3 separate regions of the Homo sapiens genome follow, and all the other regions are linked to region 1. The links are contacts of gene promoters, found by promoter capture Hi-C in blood cells and fetal thymus (Javierre and others, 2016). All regions are on one chromosome and are shown on one strand. The core of a region is centred on a gene start or on the middle of the fragment in contact, and the rest is flanking DNA. Distances in the headings are between cores, read along the strand shown. Region 1 holds the start of PRPF39 (pre-mRNA processing factor 39). Region 2 overlaps GEMIN2 (gem nuclear organelle associated protein 2). Region 3 overlaps LOC105370461 (a long non-coding RNA gene).

Region 1 (2,667 bases), core at 94-2,593:
TTTTTATCATTTGACTTTTAAACATCTTCTTTCTTATTCAATTATAAGCAAGGAAAAATATTCTGAGACTTTACACAAATAGTGTCTCATACCACCTATGAGCCATCTATGCTCAACCCCTACTTCAAAGTTCACAATCTAAGTACTAGTCCTCTTTAACAGAACTCCTTTCCATCACTTTATCCCTACTAGAGAGTGAACAGTGGAAAGTTCCAACTTTTGCAACTCTAGAATGAGGTTATAAATCTAGAGGGAGGAGGAAAACCTGACAGTAGACGCTTGTTCTTTTCACTCCATTCAAGCTCCCATACAGCCTAAAACACTTAAGTTTCAACATGAGCTTCATACGTCCCTGTCCAAAACTTGCTTTCTCAAGCCTCACGCTTTCCAGCTGTAGCAAAGTTTATTTCTGAACAGATTAAATCAGTTGCTAAATAATCTGAAGTCCTCAAACAGAAGGCCATATGAGTATCAAACGAAAAAAACAACATTTGAATCAGCATAAATTCACATGGTATTATGGCATCATTACTAATACACTGAGCAGTATTATTTATTAACTTCAAGTATTAATTAACTTAAAGATGTGATTTTGGAGAAAAACACCAGTGGTGGTCTCTGATTACCAAAGTTAAACATTCTTAAGCACAATCCCTTAAAAAATCCTGCCAGGATCAATGATGTGTTTTTTCTGTTTTAAAGTATCCTGCCAAAAGCTGTGGGTGCTGTGACTTAGGGTCGCAAAAGTGTTGCTTATGTAGTCAGAAGACAGAACGTGCCCTACAAGGCGCTCACATGCCTTAGTAATAGAACGTATATTATCTTCCCAATCCTCTGGCGGCTGCAAATGTGCTCCTTCCACTTCCAGCCACCCCAGCCGTGTTCCAGCTCCGGGAGAAGCAAGGGCTTTAGAATTACCCCCAAATATCTTCCTAAATCCAGGCGAAGGAGGCCCACACTTCTCCACCCTACCTAACGCACCCCTCAAGTGAAACGTTTGGTCTAAGAAAAAAATACCTTGCACCGCTCCACCCAACAGGTGGGAAGGAGAAAGGAATGGACAGCTGAGCGCTGAATCCGAGCCAGGCCTCAAACAGGGCGGGAGAGGGAGGCCGCGGCCAGAGCGCGGCCTGAAACCCGGCAGGCCCCTTTCAGTACCAAGTACCACCCTCTGCCCCAGCTAATTTCAAGGAGCCCGCCCCAGCAGACCTTATGATGGATGCCACTTGATGCCATGAGCCGGAGCCTGTGACGACCTAGCCGAAGATGGCACTTCACCGCCTCCGTCCCCACAGCCAGCACAGCAGCCGCCACCCGCGCCACGGCCGCCTGGTCCAGGGCACGATGCGCATGCGTCAGTGTCCCTGGAGGCGAAAAAGTCACGTGGGTTCGCAGCGCGCAGGCCTGGCCCTCCCAGGGATCCTCGCTGCCCGTGCGGCCCCAGCCCCGCCCCCGCAGCCCCGCCCCGCCCCGCCGCGAGCGAGGGCGGGGACCGCTGCGCCTACCTGCCTTTCCCTCCATAGGGACTTCCCAAAGGAAAGGAGGGCGTTTAGGGGCTTTCACACGCCTGATCTTAAACACAGCGCCCTGACCCCTCCCCACCAAAAACGGCAAAATGTCATTTTTGGGGGCAAATCTAAGGTTTTCCCTACAATTGTTCAAGCTTTCACACTAAAACATTTACCTAAAAACGGGCAGAAATTCAGCCTTAAACCCACAAATCTCACGATGGTATAGACCCTGGGCCCACTCAGGTTTCCTGAAAACTAAACAGTTCTGGAGTTAGGGGTTTGGAGAACGGGCTATTGTTAAAGAAAAAAGTATTTAGTGACACTTGTTAAAGCACAAAAAGAGGGCTTTATTCAGGACCATCGCAACAGGTATAGGGACCACTGACTGCAATGGAGACTTGCAGTAGGGAAAGAGATATTGGGCTCAACTCCTCATACAGCATGGGCAAGTGGAGATTTATAGCCAAGGAGCGGTGGTAAGTGAATGTATAATTACTAAGAGGAAACATCAGGGTAAGGGGGATTTTGGCTAAACCCACCTAATAGGATTTTTGCTGAAGACAGGCCAAGATAATGAGGCATCACCTGGGGGATGGTGGAGACTGAAGAACCTGATCAGATATTGAGGATGATCAGCTATCAAGGATGGGGGTTTATTGCTAATCTGACTTAGCAAAGTTCTTTGCTTAAACTGGATTTTACAAAGAAAGTGTACAGAAGAGCCTAGCAGAAGATTCAGAAACCTGACTAAAGTTGGCCAAGCAAAAAAAAAAATCTTTGTATCTGAAGGGATATGTTATCCTCTGGACAAATTGAGGGGGACTGTGCGTTAACAATCTTAGCAGTCCTCTTCAGTTGTACCACCATCTCCACTTTAATAAAAAAAAATTTTCTTTCAAATCTGGCCTCTCTCCCTTTAAGATTCTGTTACATTGGTGCCCCCGCATTCACCTGTCACTTACCATGTAATCTGTTGTTCCAGGTGCATTAGTATTACTACTGGGCTCCAAGTTCCTCATCTGAAATCTGTCTCCTCTGGAAATACTTATTTACAAGACGACGTTTCTTGTCACAACGCAGGTTAATCATAAATCCTCTCACCAGCACCTTTCGTTCGAAATACCAAATTCAGTCTTTTTTCCTACCTTTTACTTGC
Region 2 (2,667 bases), core at 77-2,576, 6.0 Mb after region 1:
TTCCCTAAGATTTGAGTCTATTTATACTCCTGTACCACGTCTAAGAGTGCTTGTTTCCCCAGCTCTTGTCAATATGGTGTATCAAACTTTCTTGGCCAATATGTTACCTGAAAAATAGCACCTTGGCATAGTTATGTTATACTTCTATTACAAGTGATTTTTGGCATCTTGTCATATAAGAATAATTTTATTTCCTTTCTGTGAGGTATCTATATCCTTTGGCTATTTTTTCTTGGGCAGGGGAGGGGTGATTCTTGGTCTTTTTATTGATTCTTGGGGCTTTTTACATTTTTAGGAAAAATTAGTTTTAAATGTGAAAAACACAATGTGGCACCATATAGCAAATAATAAATACCTGTTGAACTGAAAAGAACTACATGCTATAGGGAGTAAGCGCTAATGCAGAGGCATGCACTGGATTCTCAAGGAACACCTGCAAACTTGGGGGCAGGTAAATCCTGAAGGACAAGGAGTTGTCTACATAACTTATGATTACAGCCACATGAATTTTAAAGATATCCTCAACATTTCATCTTTAGAATATGTGATTTATTTTTTACAGGCCCATGAAGTGATAGATGTGATTATGCATTTTAAAGCATCTAATTGTGTCGATTTCCATTTTTTCCCTGGCTACTCATAACACTGTTTGCCTGATGCCTCATCATTTAAAAAAACTATGAATCTTATCCAACTCATAAAATGATTACCAAGCCAAACATAAGGGATATGAAGCCAAACTAAAAAAAGTCACAGTAAATTGTTTCAGAAACTAAGCTGTTTTGTTAGGTTGAAGAGCTAATAAACTAAGTCTGGGTTGGCAAACATTTTCTATCAAGAGTCAGACAGCAAATATTTTAGGCTTTGCAGGCCACATAAAGTCTCAGCCACATATTATTTGTTTCTTTTTTACTCTTTCAAAACCTAAAAACAATCCTTAGCTCATGGATATAAAAAAGGCCATGAACTGGACTTGGCCCAGGGTAGAGTTTGCTGACCCCTTATATTAAGTGGTGCACCAAAATTAAAATGCTTTTTGTTCTGTTTATCCACACAGCCCTTACTTGTACATAATCTATTCCAGGACTTTCATTTGTGGCTGGTCCAACAGCCCCGTCAGCACATAACTTTTCACCCAGACAAAATTTCTTCCAGCCTTCTTCATCTTCAGATTTTGGCTAAAAGAAAAAAAAAAAAACTGATTTATTCCTGTGTATTAATTTTTACACTGAACAGTAAAAAAAAAGAAGTTAAGTCCTTCCATATTCCCATTACCGCAACCCAAAGATACGGAGCCAGTTATGGGGAGAATCTCTGCCCCCAAATTTGTATGTTAAAACCTTAAACTCCAGTACCTCAGAATGTGACTGTATTTGGAGACAGGGCCTTTAAAGAAGTGATTAATTTAAATTGAGGCCATTAGGGTGAGCCGTAATCCAATCTTACTAGTGTCCTTATAAGAGGAAATTTGGATTCACAAAGAGACACCAGGGACTCCCACACACAGAGGAAAGACCACGTGAGAAAACAGGGAGAAGGTGGCCCTATGCAAGCCAAGGAGAAAAGCCTCAGAAGAGACCAACCTTAGGCCGGGTGCGGTGGTTCACGCCTGTAATCCCAGCACTTTGGGAGGCCGAGGCAGGCGATCACATGAAGTCAGGAGTTCAAGACCAGCCTGGCCAACATGGCAAAACCCCACCTCTACTAAAAATACAAAAAAAAAAAAAATTAGCCGGATGTGGTGGTGCACACCTGTAATCCCAGCTACCCAGAGGCTGAGGCAGGAGAATCACTCGAGCCTGGGAGGCGGAGGCTGCAGTGAGCAGAGATTGCGTCATTGCACTCTAGCCTGGGCAACAAGAGCGAAACTCTGCCTCAAAAAACAAACAAACAAACAAAAAGAGACCAACCTTGCTGCCACCTTGTTCTTTGACTTTCAGCCTTCAAGACTGAGAAAATAAATACATTTCTGTTGTTTAATCCACCTAGTCTGTTATGGCAGCCCTGACAAACATAGTGCCTAAGTGGCTACACAATATGTGGGACATGTTGTTTTTCCTTATTATTACATTTTTTGAGACAGGGTCTTGCTCTGTCGCCCAAGTTGGAGTGCAGAGGTGTGATTACAGTTCATTGCAGCCTGAATCTCGGGCTCAAATAATTCTGCCACCTCAGCCTCTTGAGTAGCTGGGACTACAGGCATGTGCCACCATGCCTGATAATTTTTAAATTTTTTTTGTAGAGATAGTTGTCTCACTATGTTGCCCAGGCTGGTCTCAAACTCCTGGCCTCAAGCAATTCTTCTGCTTTGGCTTCCCAAAGTGCTGGGATTACAAGTGTGAGCCACTGTGCCCAGCCAAGATGTGTTTAGTTTGGACAAGACTTTAGTGGACACTGACAGACAATGGTGTGTCCAAAAGAGGATGATAAAGACAGAAATAAGTATGGGGGAAAAAATGCACCAAGAACACTTAATAGAATGAAGGATATTTATCCCATGTAAAGAGACATGATTACATATTTCACATATTTGAAGGGTTGTCCAGTCAAAGAAGAAACAGATCTACTCATGCTGCCAGACAGAAAAAGCAGGACGCAGGACTATTTGGGAGAAGCATTCAGCTCAATATAACCTCCTTAACAAAATAACCTTTGTTTGTACATATC
Region 3 (2,667 bases), core at 96-2,595, 5.6 Mb after region 1:
CCAAAGAGGGTGTTATAGCATGTCACAGCTCTGGCTTAGGAAGCCCCAAGGTCTGGGCTTCCAGAAGGGCTACAGCTCTTCTCTCCTTCTCATTGCCTGCAGTGCAGAGAGCAGGGGATGGCAGCAAGTTTCAGTGGGGAGTGTTTAAGCCCATTTGTGTTATAGCTCTTTCAGTCCCACCACCACAACTGCAGCCCGTGGCTGGCCCAGCCCCACTGCTGCTTCCCACTGCATGGGGCGGCCACCCGGCGCCAACAAAGGGTGGAAGTGCTACAGTGTTACAGCAGCTCTACCTCAGGAAATCCCAAGGTCTGGGTCCCCAGAAGGGTTACCACTCTTCACTCTCATAGTCCAGGAGCGTGTCACTGCCTGCAGCTTGGCAAGCGGGCCAGGAAAGCATTACAGCTCCTTTCACACCTACCATTCAGTGATATCCTAGTTCTTGTCCCATGTCCATGAAGAATGAGGTAACATGGACAACTGGAAGGTGAACAAGGCAGAGATTTATTGAGCAACAGAACAGCTCTCAGTAGAGAGAAGACGTGTAGTGGGTAGCTCCTTTCCACTGGCAGGTCATCCTGAAGAGTATCTGAGTCTGCATGAGTCTAGGGTTTTTATGGGCTCAGAAGGGAGGAAGTGCATGCTGATTGATCCATGGGTAGCCATGGGCAGGCATGGAAAAAGCACCGTAAGTTCTCACTCTGGGCCGCGGACTCCACCCGTAATTGGCAGCCTGGCCCCCAGGCTTCAGGCCATCCCTGGCTTCAAGACGGGGTTTCACCAAGGACCTGCCCCTTCCCACCTAGGAATCTGTCTGCCTCCTGTTGCCATCAACATGCCATTTGTGCCCAGGCTGTCCATGCTGAGGGGAGCCCACAGGCCCACACCAAGCTGCCCTCAGCACCCCCGGTCTCCCTCTTGAGTTCATCAGTGCCCAAAGTTTCAGAGTTTCAGCTCCCTCTGAGCTCATCAGTGCTCAAGGCGGCAGTGGGAGTTGGTGTGTCAGTGTTGCCCCAGGCATGCACACACCTGGCTGGGTCACGACAGTGCCTGGGCTAAGCTATAACTTTGCTCCACACCAGAGTGGAAACTGAGAGCAGGGAGAGGCCAGGGAGAGTGGGAGCAGGCACTTCCGAACTTGCGGGGGCAAGAGGCTCCCTGGGCCCCAGAGAGCACAGGGATGCCCAGGTCTGGAGCCATGGCTGGGTGGTTACAGCTGCACCTAGAAGTGCAGGCTCCTGCCCCACCAATTTGGTAGAGTGTGAGGCTTCCACTGGGATCACCTGTTCCCACCCCCTACGGGCTCCACAGAGGGCACAGCCCCAGGTGCACCCCCTCCTACTGCAGCGGCCTTCACCGCAGCAGCTGCTCCAGATGAGCCGCCACCATCACTAGGAGGAAGCTGCAATTGAGATAAAAGCTGTCCTGTGCACTGAAACCTTAGAGATTCTGGGTTCAGTGCACCTGAGGAACTATCTCTAAGGAACATTAAGGAAAGAGTGAGAAGGTTAGCTAGGAATAGAGATTAACTAAAGATCTGAATACAAGAAAACTATACTAAACAAATCCACCGTTTTCTTCCATCTCTGTCCACAGCAAATACAAGGACCCTAGTATTTACCTTCAGCCAAAAATAGTAATAAAAGGATAGGCCTCCTTTGTGGCAAAACTTCATCTCTCAGACCCTTTATGTCTAGGCAAGACCATGTGTCTAGTTTTAGCCAATGAATGTAGGAAGTAATCTGTCATTTCCTTGCTACGGCAATTAAGAAGTGCCTTCTCCATTCTCTCTTCCCCTTCCATTACAAGAGACAGAGAATCACAGGGCATTTTAAGGATGGTATAACTATAAAACAGAAGGAATTAGGGTCACTGAATCATCACATGAAGGAAAGCCGCCTGCTAAGAACACCTTCAGTGGACAGTTAAAGGAGTGAAAAAATACACGGCTATTTTGTTGACATTAAGATCTTCAGGTTTCCCTTTTATAGAAACTAGCATCTTTATTAATTAGAGCCCTTCTTATAAACGAAAGACAGGAAAAATTAACTTTACACAAATCGTAAGACCCAAATCCAACATCAATAATCATGGGAGAAAGTATGCTTTTTCCATAAAGGTGGGTAAAGGGGAAAAAAGTGAATATTTGCCTAATATTTATCTAACATACTATAATCTAGCCAATTATAGACAGAAGATTGTGACTGCTATGTAGCAAAAGCTGATTAATGTAAGAACAACCAAGAGGCTGGACACGGTGGCTCATGCCTATAAACCCAGCACTTTGGAAGGCTGAGGCAGGAAGATTACTTGAGGCCAGGAGTCCAAAACTAGCCTGACCAACATGGTGAAACCCATCTCCACTAAAAATACAAAAATTAGCCAGGTGTGGTGATGCACACCTGGAGTCCCAGCTACTCAGGAGGCTGAGGCAGGAGAATTGCTTGAACCAGAAGATGGAGGCTGCAGTGAGCCAAGATCACATCACTATACTCCAGCCTTGGCAATAGAGCAAGACTCCATCTCCAAAAAAAAAACCAAGAGAAAAACAAAATATTACGATTATCAAATATTGGTAGGAATATGGAAGAGGGAAAGAGAGTAATGTAATTGAAATACATCTTCATATTTTACAAAAAGGGAGTAAACAGATGATGTCTAAAGTTA

What was found. Contacts are between HindIII fragments. The CHiCAGO score rates a contact against its expected background, and 5 or more counts as called.
Region 2: a fragment that was not itself captured here is called in contact with the fragment with the promoter of PRPF39 in region 1 in 12 of 17 cell types (total CD4 T cells, activated CD4 T cells, total B cells and 9 more); the score reaches 23.9 in total CD4 T cells.
Region 3: a fragment that was not itself captured here is called in contact with the fragment with the promoter of PRPF39 in region 1 in 9 of 17 cell types (total CD8 T cells, naive CD8 T cells, total B cells and 6 more); the score reaches 15.8 in total CD8 T cells.

What each region holds. Positions count from the first base shown.
Region 1 is chr14:45,082,792-45,085,458 of GRCh38, reverse strand. PRPF39 (pre-mRNA processing factor 39) reads right to left here and starts at 1,343. Exons shown (of 14, transcript NM_017922.4): 1 at 1,210-1,343. PRPF39-DT (PRPF39 divergent transcript) reads left to right here and starts at 1,433. Exons shown (of 2, transcript NR_184211.1): 1 at 1,433-1,987; 2 at 2,072-2,411. RefSeq lists a silencer at 1,349-1,638. The HindIII fragment of the contact is 5,294 bases long and covers 1-1,665 here.
Region 2 is chr14:39,120,941-39,123,607 of GRCh38, reverse strand. It overlaps GEMIN2 (gem nuclear organelle associated protein 2), which reads right to left. Exons shown (of 10, transcript NM_003616.3): 5 at 1,065-1,178. Among named protein-coding and RNA genes, the nearest start is that of GEMIN2, 8.0 kb to the right of the region's middle. The HindIII fragment of the contact is 5,325 bases long and covers 1-2,667 here.
Region 3 is chr14:39,439,574-39,442,240 of GRCh38, reverse strand. The region is part of intron 1 of LOC105370461 (a long non-coding RNA gene); the gene reads right to left. Among named protein-coding and RNA genes, the nearest start is that of FBXO33, 8.5 kb to the right of the region's middle. The HindIII fragment of the contact is 8,991 bases long and covers 1-2,667 here.